3 separate regions of the Homo sapiens genome follow, and all the other regions are linked to region 2. The links are contacts of gene promoters, found by promoter capture Hi-C in blood cells and fetal thymus (Javierre and others, 2016). All regions are on one chromosome and are shown on one strand. Each heading gives the region's core, a stretch centred on a gene start or on the middle of the fragment in contact. The rest is flanking DNA. Distances are from core to core; before and after follow the strand shown. Region 1 has its middle 41 kb from the start of NR1D2. Region 2 holds the start of UBE2E1 (ubiquitin conjugating enzyme E2 E1). Region 3 holds the start of LOC105376993 (a long non-coding RNA gene).

The links. Contacts are between HindIII fragments. The CHiCAGO score rates a contact against its expected background, and 5 or more counts as called.
Region 1: a contact is called between a fragment that was not itself captured here and the fragment with the promoter of UBE2E1 in region 2, in 1 of 17 cell types (neutrophils). The highest score is 5.1, in neutrophils.
Region 3: a fragment that was not itself captured here is called in contact with the fragment with the promoter of UBE2E1 in region 2 in 1 of 17 cell types (monocytes); the score reaches 5.3 in monocytes.

Annotation. Positions count from the first base shown.
Region 1 is chr3:23,983,908-23,988,532 of GRCh38, reverse strand. No RefSeq gene overlaps it. Among named protein-coding and RNA genes, the nearest start is that of NR1D2, 41 kb to the right of the region's middle. The HindIII fragment of the contact is 6,327 bases long and covers 1-4,625 here.
Region 2 is chr3:23,804,143-23,808,574 of GRCh38, reverse strand. UBE2E1 (ubiquitin conjugating enzyme E2 E1) reads right to left here and starts at 2,620. Exons shown (of 6, transcript NM_003341.5): 1 at 2,487-2,620; 2 at 1,154-1,338. The coding sequence starts at 1,305. UBE2E1-AS1 (UBE2E1 antisense RNA 1) reads left to right here and starts at 1,670. Exons shown (of 2, transcript NR_046652.1): 1 at 1,670-1,756; 2 at 3,861-4,432. RefSeq lists an enhancer at 1,105-1,194 and silencers at 1,495-1,674, 1,875-2,174, 2,365-2,494, 2,575-2,684. The HindIII fragment of the contact is 12,732 bases long and covers 1-4,432 here.
Region 3 is chr3:23,645,402-23,650,362 of GRCh38, reverse strand. LOC105376993 (a long non-coding RNA gene) reads right to left here and starts at 3,541. Exons shown (of 3, transcript XR_940651.3): 1 at 3,357-3,541; 2 at 2,648-2,828. The HindIII fragment of the contact is 225 bases long and covers 1,982-2,206 here.

The DNA of each region.
Region 1 (4,625 bases), core at 790-3,289, 180 kb before region 2:
TCCCAGCTACTCGGGAGGCTTAGGCACGAGAATCGCTTGAACCCGGGATGCAAAGACTGCAGTGAGCGGAGATGCCACCATTGCACTCCAGCCCGGGTGACAGAGCGAGACTCGGTCTCAAAAAAAAAAAAAAAAAAAAAGAACTACCTGAGGCCGAATATGGTGGCTCACACCTGTAATCCTAGCATTTTGGGAGACCAAGGTGGGTGGATCACTTGAGCTCAGCAATTCGAGACCAGCCTGGGCAACATGGTAAAACCCCATCTCTATAAAAATTACCAAAAAGTTAGCGGAGCGTGGTGGTGTGTGCCTGTAGTCCCAGCTACTTGGGGTGCTGAGGTAGAAGAATCATTTCAACCCAGGAGGTCGACGCTGCAGTAAGCCAAGATCACACCACTGCACTCCAGCCTGGGTGACAAAGTGAGACCCTGTCTCAAAAAAAAAAAAAGAAAGAAAGAGAGAGAGAAGAAGGAAGGAAGGAAGGAAGGAAGGAAGGAAGGAAGGAAGGAGAAAGAAAGGAAGGGGAAAAAACAAATTAAAAACAAAAAGAACTGGCCGGGTGTGGTGGCTCACGCCTGTAATCCCAGCGCTTTGGGAGGCCAAGGCAGGCTGATCACCTGAGGTCAGGTGTTTGAGACCAGCCTGGCCAACATAGTGAAACCCTGTCTCTACTAAAAATACAAAAATTAGCCAGGCGTGGTGGCAGGCACCTGTAATCCCAGCTACTTGGGAGGCTAAAGCAGGAGAATTGCTTCAACCCAGGAGGCAGAGGTTGCAGTGAGCCGAGATCACGCCACTGCACTCCAGTCTGGGCGACAGAGTGAGACTCTGTCTAAAAAAAAAAAAAAGAACTACTTGAGACCAGACGATTTATGGTGAAAGGAGCTTTAATTGACTCACAGTTCTGCAGGCTATCTATACAGGAAGCATGGCTGGAAGGTCTCAGGAAATTTACACAATCGTGACAGAAGACAAAGGAGAAGCAAGCACGTCTTACCATGGAGGACCAGGAGAGGTGGAGAGTGAAGGGGGAGGCACTTTTAAACATCCAGATCTCATGAGAACTCACTCTCACAAGAACAGCCAGGGGAAATTCCGCCCCCATGATCCAATCACCTCCCATCAGGTCCCTACCCCAACACTGGGAATTACAATTCGACACAAGATCTGGTTGGGGACACAGAGCCAAACCACATCAGTGGCCTACCCAATAGCCTTTCCCCAACAGCTTCTTTCTGGAAGAGCCCGCTGCTCTCTACAGAGGCTGAAAAATGTTAGATACTTGCTTTCCCAGGCTCCCTTGAGGCAGGAGACCCAGTCTGGCCAACAGGAACTGAAGGGTGAAGCCCGCTAGAGCCTTCTGGAAAAGATTCCCCCCTAACATACAAGAGGAAGGTCTCTGCCCTTCTTATCTGGAAATGGTACCTCTGCTGTGATGCCTGAACTGTGGCAGCCATCTTGCAACCATGAGAGAAAACATTAGAAACAGGCACAGGATGACAAAGAAGGATCAGAACTCCTAGGTTCCTTCTTTTCTTTTAATTAATTGTGGTAAAATGTACATAACATAAAATTTACCATCTTAACTTTTTTTTTTTTTTTTTTGAGACAGAGTCTCGCTCTGTCGCCCAGGCTGGAGTGCAATGGCGCGATCTCAACTCACTGCAAGCTCCGCCTCTCAGGTTCACACCGTTCTCCTGCCTCAGCCTCCCAAGTAGCTGGGACTACAGGTGCCCACCACTATGCCCACCTAATTTTTTGTATTTTTAGTAGAGATGGGGTTTCACCGTGTTAGCCAGGATGGTCTCCATCTCCTGACCTCATGATCCACCTGCCTCAGCCTCCCAAAGTGCTGGCATTACAGGCATGAGCCACCGCGCCTGGCCCATCTTAACCATTTTTAAGTGTTCACTTCAATAGTGTTAAATACAATCACTTTGTTGTACAACCCATCTCAAGAATTCTTAAAAATTATTATGGGTGCATAACAGTTGTATGTATTTATGGGGTACATGTGTCATTTTGATGCAGGCATATAATGTATAATGATCAAATCAGGGTAATTGGGGTACCCATCACCTCAAGCATATCATTTCTTTGTGTCAGGGACATGCCAGTTCCACTCTTAGTTTAGAATTCTTTTCATCTTGCAGAACTGAAATTCTGAAATAATTCCCCCTTTCCCCCTCCTCCCAAACCCTGGTAACTATTTTTCTACTTTCTGTTTCTATGAATTTGACTACTCAAAGTACTTCACATAAGTAGAATCTTACAGTATTTGTGACTGGCTTATTTCATTTAGCACAATGTCTTCAAGGTGCATCCATGTTGTAGTATGTGTCAGAATATCCTTCCTTTTTGAGGCTCAATAATAGCACATTTTGTTTATTCATTCATCCTTCTATGGAAATCTGGGGTTTTCCCACATTTTGGCTATTATGAATAATGCTGCTATAAATGTGAGTACAAATATCTCTTCGAGAGCCTGCTGTCAATTCTTTGGGGTATATACCCAGAAGTGGAATTGCTGGATCATATGGTAGTTCTATTTTTAATTTTTTGAGGAACTGCCATACTGTCCTCCACAGCAGCTGCACTGACTTACATCTCCAACAGTGCACAGTGGTTCCAACTTCCCCACATCCTCACCAGCACTTATTTTCTGGTGTTTTTTTTTTCTTCCTGATAGTTGCCATCCTAATGGGTGTAAGGTAGGTGCCTGTGTTTTTTATGGCATTTGTGAAGCCACTGAACCAGCCTGAAATTGTCCTGCCTCTAGAAGTCTTGTGTAGGAAAAAAAATTAATAAGCATCCTTATTACAGAACTCCATGTTTTTTAATTTTTATTTTTTTAAAGATAGGGTCTTGCTCTGTTGCCCAGGCCGGAGTGCAGTGGTTACAGTGAGTGCACAGCTCATTGTACAGCCTCAAACCACCAAACCCAGCTAATTCTGAAATATTTTAATAGAGATGAGGGCTCACTATGTTGCACAGGCTGGTCTTGAACTCCTGGCCTCAAGCAATCCTCCCACCTTGGCCTCCCAAAGAGCTGGGATTACAGGGATGAGACACTATGCTCTGCCTGAACTCCCTTTTAGACAGAGCTTAAGCACCTTCTAATTGATGCACTGCTCCTTCAGTAATACAGAAAGTATTAATTCTTTTCATGATTTACTTTCGTTTATCATGCTTTCCATTATATACTGCTTCTTGAACTCTTAGAACTTAGCACAGATTATATACCAGGGTTAAGTCACAAAACAGTGCAACTGCAAATACAAAGGAGTGTTCCTAACAGCTTTATACATAATAACCAAACTGGAAACAATCCAGATGTCCATTCGATAGGCGTATGGATAAACCATGATGCATCTATACAATGGAACATGACTTGCAATAAAAAGGAACAAACTGCCAATACACGAATGACATGAATGAACCTCAAAAACATTATGCTGGGTGAAGAAGCCTGACACAGAAGAGAACTGTTAGTCCAACTCCTGCTGCTATAACAAAATAGGGTAAACTGGGTAATTTATAAAAAAAAGAGGTTTATTGAGCTTATGTTCTGGAGGCTACAAAGTCCAAGATTGAGGGGCCATATCTGGTGAGGGCCTTCTTGCTGCATCATAACAGAAGGGTGAGCAAGCACATAAAACAGAGAGGAAGTCAGGCCAAACTCACCCTTTATAGGAACCCAATCCCGCTATAATCCATTCAAAGAGGCAGAGCCTTCATGGCCTAATCACCTATTTTTTTATTTTATTTATTTTTATTTTTTTTAGATGGAGTCTCGTTCTGTCACCCAGGCTGGAGTGCAGTGGCGCGATCTCGGCTCACCGCAACATCTGCTTCCCGAGTTCAAGTGATTCTCCTGCCTCAGCCTCCCCAGTAGCTGGGATTACAGGCGCCCACCACCACGCCTCACTAATTTTTGTATTTTTAGTAGAGACAGTGTTTCACTATGTTGGCCAGGGTGGTCTCAAACTCCTGACCTCAGGTGATCTGCCTGCCTCAGCCTCCCAAAGTGCTGGCATTACAGGTGTGAGCCATGGCGCCTGGCCTAGTCACTTATTAATTGCACACAGTTATTGAATATCTATGTGTCAGGATTAAAAAAAAAAATCCAATGCAAAATGAGGTTCCATGAAGGGCTGGGCAACTAATTCAGACAGTGTTAGGGGAATTGTATGCACGTGGAGCACAATGGCTACCAATCCCAGCATTTTGAAGGATAATTGCCAGGCACTGCTGTTGTAGACCTTGTATGCCGGAGCTGGCTTGTGAGAGCTCCTGAGGTCTGATTCCTGTTTCCAGGAATTCAGGGCGCAATGGCGTGCGCCTGTAATCCCAGCTACTCAGGAGGCTGAGGCAGGAGGATTGCTTGAACTTGGGAGGCGGAGGTTTCGGTGAACCGAGATTGAGCCATGCACTCCAGCCTAAGCAACAGAGTGAGACTCCATCTCAAAAAATAACAATAATAATAATAATAAGTGACTAAACCATTAGTCCATTCATTGAAAATCTGATCAGATAAAACAGCCTAGGAAAACAGCAGCCATAGTAGAGAACAAAAAGTTGATCAAGAGAATGAAAGTAGGTACTTTCCACTTTGGAAACGACCC
Region 2 (4,432 bases), core at 1,371-3,870:
AAATTACAAGTCAGGGAGAATGACAGAACAAACTCTCAAACCCTGACTTCCAGGCTCACTACTCAGTGGAGAGATCTAAAGTCTCATGTTCTACTTTATTTTAAAAATTTTTAAGAAGGGTATCCCTATCCCATCATTTGGAGTTCTTACTATCTTCCTGGTTTGCCACCTTTTTAACAACTGCCTAACTCTGAGAGCAGAAGGATTTATGAAAGGGTGTCTCAGAGCTCCTAGGAATCCACTAAAGATGATTTTGAGGGTCATGGCGATCAGAGGATATTACTGAAGGATGGCAGGGGTAAAAAGTAGCTACCTCCAGAGGCTTAAGAGGAAAAGAATAAAGAAAAAGGGTGACCGCTTAGGATGGCAGGGATAAAAAGTAGCTACCTTCAGGGCCTTAAGAGGAAAAGAATAAAGTAAAAGGGAGACCACTTAAATTGAAAAAATAAGGCAAAGTAACATTTTCACAGCATGAGGACAGCAAATAGCATGAAAAAAAGACAAGTCTCCCTGAAATTGGTAAACTGAAGTTTTTAAAGAGAACCACAAAAATAACCTAGAATAACCATTTTATAGTCACTTACTGATTCATTCATTTGCCTCAACTCTCAGAAAAATCTCTTTAAATTCCACCAGAAAACATCTGTCTTCACCTACTAAATTTTGTACCTGCTAATATGAGTTTCTTATTCCTTATGCAATTTGTGAAGAAAGCTCTATTTAGAAAAGATCATCCATGCAACAGGTGAGGAGAAGGTAAAATGGTCACAGAATTCATTTTGATGCAGTTCTCTGGGCTGGTATTAGTAATTAAGAAATGGGATCATGGCCTTGGGGAAGGTCACAGATTAACCATTAGTAGGACAAGAAATCTGAAATCAGATTTGGGGGTCACTAATAAAAGTAACGAGGAATCTTACAAACTTCAGCAAGAAATGCGAGAGGCAAGCCGCAACAGCTGCATGTGAGCAATGATTTAAAAACAGAAGCAGCAATAGAGAAAATAATTAGGGCTTCCAAGGCCCTTCTTTCATTTTTAAGAACACATAAACCATGAGGAGCGTTTAAGCTATCCTCATTGGGAGGCAGACCAAATGCAGCAAGAGGCAGTTCGGAAATAGGAAGCCTGTGGAAAAAAAAAAGAGCACAGTACCTCTTGGCGCTGGTGGAGAGGAGTTTGGAGTTTTTGCTCATGCTGACTTTACTCTCCTTCTTCTTGGGGGTGTTTGTTTCTTTCTCGGTTTGCTGGTTGGAAGACGAAGATGAGGAGGAGCTGGTGCTGGCCCTCGAATCGTCATCCGACATAGCGAACCCCCCACCCCACCCCGCAAACAGCCCCTGCAGGGGGAGAGAAACAAAACAGAAACACACAAACCATGCAGCCAGTGTAAATAAGGAACTCGGGTGCTGTCAGGAGGGCATTGACCAGGGGCGCACGCGGCCGCCCACCGCCCTCCACTCGCTTTTCAAAGTCTGCAGGCCCATTAAGGCTTTTGCAAATCGGACGCGGCTTGTTTATTTTTGGCCCCAAGTGGGGAACGCTGTGGGAAAACGGTCTGGAGCTAGGAGAGAGGCCCCTCCCTCGCCCCCCGGGGCTCTCCGCTGGGCAGGGAGGGAGTAGCCCGGGAGGCGAAGGAGGGCAGGGCGGGGGGCGCGGGGCGCCACGGCGGGGCAGGGAGGGAAGGTCCCGGCGGCCGGCCGGCCTCGGGGCTGTTTTTGTCCGCTTTCCGGGGGTCGTGAGGGGCCGGTGGCCCGGGTGAGACTGTGGGGCCACGAGCGGAGTTTGGCGAGGTCGGGAAGAGAGGAGGGGCGGGAAGGAGTAAGAGAGGAAGCCGAAACAGGGGGACGGAGGCGGGGAGCGGGTGCCCGGGTGGGGGAAGGGAGAGGCCGGCGGGGGGCAGGGGCGACGAGGCCCGAGGCCCCCCCGCGCCGCGCCCCGACGCCCCTCCCGGCCTGCCTGCCTCTGGCCGCCCTGCTCACAGCTATGCGGCCGGGCGGGGGTCCGGAGCACACGCCCGATCGCCACTCCTGTAGGGGGATAGGGGCTGCGGCGGGGAATGGGGGGGTCGGCCTCCGCAGCGAAGACATAACAATGAGCCCTTCCGCCCCGGAGGGGTTAATCCCCGCGAACCCCCGCCCCTGGGGAAAACGGGGCTCCCCCAACTCCCTCCCACCCCCGCTCCCGGGCCCCTCGGTGGCCAGTGGGGGGCTCTTGGGGCAGCGCTGACAGTTCGAGCCACAATGACCCCCGTCCTCAATGCGGGCGGCCCCCGCACCCCACGCGGCCCGGGGTCCCTGCCCATCCCCCGCGGGCGGGCCCCGGACCCCTGGGGCTCCCCAGCCCCTCTCCGCTCCCCCCCCGCGCCGGCCCCGTGCCCTGCGGCCCGGCGGCCCCGGCGGCGCGAGTCGGGGGAGGCGGCGAGGGGTGTCCCCGAGGCCCGGCGGCGCGGCCGGGGGGCGGCGGGCCGCTGGGGGGATCCCCGTACCTCTCTTTGTGTCTGGCTCCTCCGTGCCGCCGCGGCGGCTGCTGCTGCGGCTGCGGCTGGGCCTGGCCACTCGTGTCTCTCTCTCGCTGGGAGAGAAGCGGAAGTGCAGCAACAGCAACTATTAAACAGGCAATGGCTTCCCCCAGCCACACACGCTCGCACACACACCACTCCTCCGCCGCCGCCTCCTCCTCCTCCTCCTCCTCGCCCTCACCCCTCCCCCACCCGGCCCGGTCCCACCCACCCGCGCTCCCCTCCCCCTGCAACACCTCCTGGGGGTGCGCGAGGAAGACCCAGGAGACCCCAGGAAACCCTGTCCCCCACAGACACCCCCACCCCAGCGCCTCCTCCGGACGCCCGGGAAGGGGGCGAGGGTTGTGAATTTTCTCTTAAGTGGTTTGGGAACCTGGATTCTGGGCGGGAGAGGGGAAGCCGATGGAGATGGGGGGCGCTGGGAGTGATTGGAACTAGATGGAATAGGGGGGTCACGAGAGAAAGTTCTTTCCAATGAGGGCTTTTGGAAAGGAGAGGAGTAGGGAGGTGGCAAATTGGTGAAAACGTTGGTAATCTGGTGGTGGCAAAGACTTTAGAGAATGCAGCGGGTACTCCACCTAAAAAGCGATTAAAGAGAAAAAAAAAATCACACAACAAGGGTTTTCTTTGGACTGACACTTGCTTCTCCTTCTAGCAATTTACCTGCTAGGAGCAGAGGTCAGTTTAGGTATGCCTGTGAGAAAATCCCAAACTAGGAATTTTCTGCTCAGGTCACGCGAGGCACGTGCAGTTTTACAATATTAGATTCTTCCACTCACTTTTTATAGAAAGTGATGTGGTTTTTTATAAGAGTGATACAAAGGTTTTGGTGACAGGTAAAACCAACGTGTAACGGGCTTGCGAATGTGAGACATCACTGGGAATAAGCTATATACTACTGAATTAGACTGGATTTAGAATTTTTTGTGTCATTTTACATTAGATGTAAGGTTTGGTTTTTGGAAATTGGATGCAAAGTTCTGGGGATCGCAGAATCCCCAGATCGCTAAATTGACCAAATTATTTTTAAAATATTAAGCCATTTTTCTCTTTCTTTAGCTACCTATAAATGCTATGCAAATAATATTTTTGAAATGATCAGCAATTCTTCTGAATTGTTCCTTATTTAGCATTTTTGCCAATTTTTTTTTAATATTAAGCCATCAAATTACGATTCAGTTTCTCACCTTTTGTCATTTCAGTTGAAGGGAACTAAAGAGATGTGTGCCATTCAAATACAACAGTGCCACACATACAAGGTCTTGTACATTAAGGAGACAGCCTCAGATTTCCATAGGTCACTCTAAATTATCTCATTCAAACTGCCATCATTTTCCACAGCAACAGTGGCTTCAGTTACCACAGGACAACACAAGATATACAGCCCATGGCATATCCAGTAACCAGGAAAACAAGCATTCTCACGACCCAGCCGAACTCCTTCTAACCATCAACCTGAAATTCCAGCTTTATCAAGACTCATAAAGTAATTGTGCATGCTTCTTGCTCAATCCCTACCAGGAAACCTGTATCTACCAGGAGTTGTCATAGAATAAGAAGTTCAAAAGCTGGAAGAAATCTTCAGGGTCATAATTTCAGCCTCCTGCTTCCAGACAGAACTATTTCTCCACCACTGAAATGCATATAGATTTTGAAAAAATTTCCAGACATAACCTTTCTTAAGTGTTTGGTTTCAGGAGTCCTGGTAGAGTATATAAAAATGATGACATTCTTTGCTATATATTTGAAAAAATTTTTTAAACTTCTGAAAAACTGATTGTATTCTTTTTGTTCTGATGAAAAGATGTAAATTCAGAAGAAAACAATAAGAAGATGAAATAAACTCAGGATGAGGAAAATAATCTAAAAATAGTTATTAAAATTGAAATTTCCTCCTATGAAAATTTGGATTT
Region 3 (4,961 bases), core at 845-3,344, 160 kb after region 2:
GAAATTGGATTATACCTAAAACTGAAAAATCAAGAAATAACAGTATCAACACATTATTGAGAAATTTAAGTATAAACACCAGAAGAAATGGCCAGAAGACTTGCAAGGGGTTGCCTCTGGAGAGGAAGATGTAAAGACAGGGAGACCATAGGTAGAGACTGCTGTTTTTCATTATTAGCTTTGTAGTGGTATTTAACTCTTAGAGCTAAACAAATGTGTGATTTTGAAATAAAATAAAATAAAATAAGGCAAAAAACAAAGTCATCCCCCGCCTGAAGGTCATCTTTCAGCTACATAAAACCTTGAAGTTACCCCTTGTCTCTCTCCTGGGTTACATCAAATTCACAGACAGGATGTGTATCCCATTTCTACCTAGAGTGAGTTAAGGGGTAAAGGGGTAAGTAGGCTTGGTCACCCTATTGGGGGGTATCTATTACTGATGGCTCATCAGATCACCTTGGGAAGAGAACACAGTCACAAAGATAATTTGTCGCCATTTGTCTTTTAATGAGCTGGTATCCATTCTGCTCTGAAGAACAGTGACTTGGTTTATAACAATACATAAGCACGAAGTCAGTGCAATATGAGGAGCTTCCTAGCAAGGAGAGTAGAAAAGAGTGACTCCTCTCCAGAGCGTTTTCTAGGGAAAGCTAAATGGCTGCCTAGCAGGGGGTGCTCTGGGAGGGACTCCTGCCTGCCACGGGGGAGGGACTAAACCAGCTGTCCTCCAAATTCTGTCCAATTCTGAGACTTTAAGTTGTTCCAGAAAAAGTTCTTAGACTTTTGCTCATTACACTGCTGCATTTGCAGTCCTTTAACCCACAGGATTGAGGGTGAAAAGATTGGGAATGCAGCAGTATAATGAACAAAAGTAATGAAAACTCACAGATAACTCTGTGCCCCTTCTTAACTGCACTCTTCCTGCACGGTGTGGGACATTTGTCAATTCTGATAAGAGGAAATTGGAAGCTACGACCTGGTATATATTTGTTTTATATGCTGTCATCATTACTGCCTACTTTTAAAAATGGAGAAAAAGAACTGATGTCATCCTGAAAACCAGTATTAAATCTGTCTTCTTTGGCACCACTGTGATTTGTGAAGTCTTTTGATATTCTGGAGATCCCTGTTACACAGGAAATGGCCCAGCTCTGAACTCAGAGAAAGTGTGAAAAGTCCAATACCAGTTTCTTAGTAAGTTAAGCATGTCTGAGCTGTTCTTATAATCTTGAAATACACGAATCACCTCTCCCAGTGAACAGCAGATTAATTGCAGGGTGTGGAGCCAACAGTCAGACCTTGGTCCCGAGCCCAGCTCTGCCACACAAGCTGTGCGACCTTGGGCAAGTTACTCCATCTCTCTGGATATCAGCTTCCTCAACTGAAAACGGGCATAACACCTGGAGCAGTTAGATGCTTTCAGTGTAAGAGAAAATCCAACCACATTAACTTTCACATAAGGAAACAGATGGGCTCACATATCTGGGCGTCTACAGATTGTGAGGTCATCAGGATGGTTGGTCCAGCTTCTCAGTGATGTCCTCAAGGACCCAGGCTCTTTCTGACTCCAAGGCTGCCATCCAGTGTTGGATCTGTTCTAAACAGGGCTGCTCTCAGGGTCACAGGATACAGCCACAGCAATTAGGGCTCCTGGTTTTCCCGTTCACATTTAGCTGAAGACACAAACTGCTCTTCCTGTGGCTTTTTCTCTAGCCCAAGCAAACAGGTTCCCAGAAGCCCAGCAACCTTCCCCTGAATCTCATTGCGCCAGATTGGTTACAAGCTCATTTCTGCACCAATGACTACCAAGGTAATGAGATTACTCTGACTGGCTTAGATTAATCAGGCCCACCCTGTGGGCCTGGTGTCCACATCCCAAATCCCATGGCTGCCACAACAGAGGAGAGTAGAGCAGACAGAGGGAGACCCACCCCAATGCCTGTGAGAACATCCACCACACACGCAAGGCCATTGGGAAGCTTAAACAAGAGGACACAAGTAAAAGCACCTGATAGGGCAGGCAAACAACAAGCCATTTCCTCTCCAAATACATAGTCAGCTCTCCAAAGAAAATACAAATACTTTTCTGAGAAATGAACTGTCTAATTTGTATGCTATGTTGCACCAGGCTGAGCTATTAGAAAGCATCCTGAGAGACTTCGATGGAGTACACCGAGACTTGATCACCCAGAAGCACCAGGAAGCTTCTGTTGGAGGCACAGCGGGGCCAGGTTTAATTAACTACCCAACATAGCATCCGCGGGGGCTTGAAATGCCAATATCAGGGTCTTCCTCTGGGGCCTATGTTGGGCCTCTGTGGCAGGCACATGATCATGGTGGCTGACCCAATATTCTTCCCCAACTTTTTCTCTCTAAGCTCCCTTCCAGGGATGCCACATGCTCCAGCTGTGTGGTCAATGAGACCCAAGAGAAGGCTGCTGTGAGGCTCACAGAGTGTTTTGGTTTTCTTGCTAGAGGTGCTGCCACTCCACCTTTCTCCTTGCTGACTGCAGATGTGATGATTGCAGTGGCTGCAGTGATTGCGAGGCCACAATGGCATGCCCAAAATAAAGCAGGAACACTGGCCTGAAGCCAGCAGATGCCTACCTAATTCAAACTATTATTATGGGAGAAACCAAACCCTTACCTGATCAAGCCATTGTGATGGCCAGGACAATGCACCACTCAGGTCTCCTGCTGCAGGGAGCATAATAGTTGGCCTTGTTTCCACTCCTCTGGGTTCACCACCACATTGATGCTGAGGCCACGCTTTCCACAGGCTGCTCCTGAATCAGTGACGAAGCACAGCCAATGCAGGTTTCTTATTCCTGTGAGACACAGGGATACACCAATGGGCAACACTGCGTCAAGGATTCCCATCAGCCTTGGCCACAACTTTCTTGGACCCGCACTGCAATCTAAGACATTCTACTCCATCTGCCTTCCTCCCCTCTTTTCTTCATACACGTCAGACCAGCACCACGGCCTGAAGGTTCTCTCTGCCTTCTCTGGCCTTTTCCTTTTTATGCTTCTCCAGCACTGCTCCAATAAATTGCTTGCACATCTAATCCTGTCTTGGCATTTTCCTCTCATAGGACCCAAATGAATGCAGCCATTATGGCTTTTTTTTTTTTTTTTTTTTTTGGTTACTTGCGATCACAAGTTTTCCTAACTGAGATGGCTCCAGAAGGCCCCCTATTTTAAGAATAGAAATATTTGTGAGAAAGTAAATCATTAGTTGAGATTTTAAAGTGTCAAAAAAAATTCACACTCTTTCCTTTCAGATTCTGAACTAAATATGAAACAGATCTACAAGTCAGTTTAGGGATCAAAACATCAAATTTATTACTGCAAACCTGGATCTGAAGCCAAAGTGTCTGTCCCATGACTTTCCACTGAATTGATTTTTCCCACCTAAGCTCACTTAGAGCAGCTGGAGACTGCAGGCTCCTACACACTGTCCCCGATCCTGCTCCCTGTCAGGGAGGAGAGCCTTGCAGAAAGTCACCTCCAAGAGAAACAGCCCAAGGAGAGACAGAACAATGCCCAGGGGAGTGGGAATCTTTTAAAGAGCTAACCCCACCCCGTAGAGAAATGTGGGCCAATGGGGCACCTTTTGCCACTGCCCTAATCAACTGAATCACTCTTTTTCCCCCAGGGTGGATCCACTGGGAGGTGCATAGAAAGTAGAAACTTCTCCAGGGCCTTAGACAAGTAGAAATTCCCGTTTCAGGAGCAAGCAAGATTGAGGAGGGGACAGAGAGAGGGAGAGGATGCATCCTCCTTCATAATTATATTTGTGCATTAAATAGTTGTTGGATAAAATGTGGGAGAGAAAATGCTGATGGCTCACCCTGCCCTAAAGCAGCCAACAGTGGTGCAGATAAGACGTGCTCAGAAATGACTTTGATACCAGACACAGTCATAACTTTATAGCTGTGATGCAGACAAAATGCCACTGGCTTTTATTTTGTGTACAGAGATCGCCACTGGCTCCACTCGGTCTTTCCTGTCCTCATTTTCCTGTTGTCCTGGTTTATCGTCCTGTTAATTTAAAATTTTATCTTATCTTTATGTGTTTCTGTGAATCATTATAAATCCTTCCTGGAACAAAGTGTAGGATTGTATAACTACATATATAAGCAATTCACGAAATACATGCATGACTTTAGGTCTTTAGGGTCAGGCTGCTTCAGTATTTCCCACTATGTGATCTTGGGCAAGTCTGAGCCTGCGTTTTCTCATCTGTAAAGTGTGCATAGTACAAAGATTTACCCCAATGTACAGAAGTGGGTCTTCAGTGAGTTAGCCCATGCAATGCCTTGCTTTGCACAGTGCCTAGCACACAGTGAAGCCTCTACAAATGCTGGTTTGGGTTCCTATTATCGCAGGCACACTCTGGTGTCTATCCCCACCCCCACGGATTCCTGCCTGCAGGGGAGTGAGGGAGAACTTCCAGGAGACGGCACATGGACAACAATTTTTGTCACATCATTGATGGATGTTGGTCCAGACAGGCCAGAGGAGAAAAGCCAGTCTTGAGCGAGTGATTGCAGGAAAAGTGGATCAAGGTTATTTTCCAGGAAGGGCAGGAGAGTGTGTATTTCCCTGGGGACAGTTGGAGGGTGGCGGTAGGGAGGGTATCTGTGGAGGTTGCACGGCTGAGAGAAGGGGTCACTAAAAGAGAAGGATTTGGGGGTGAGGCGGGGTGGAGGAGAGGGGAACAAAGACCCTAGAGTGTTCCATGCAGCCTAGTTGAGAGGTCTTGCCATGGTGCCCTGATGAGGTTCAGGTGAGAACAGTCTTCCAGAATCAGCCGCCCCAAGTGGAGCTCAAATACCCAGTGCCAGGAAAGAGACTGCAGCCTCTCTGAGCAACTAATTTAACCTGAGAACACGGAGAGAATCCTCTTTAAAATATGCAAAATATCTTGGAATAAAGAAAGGCAAACAGATCAGAGC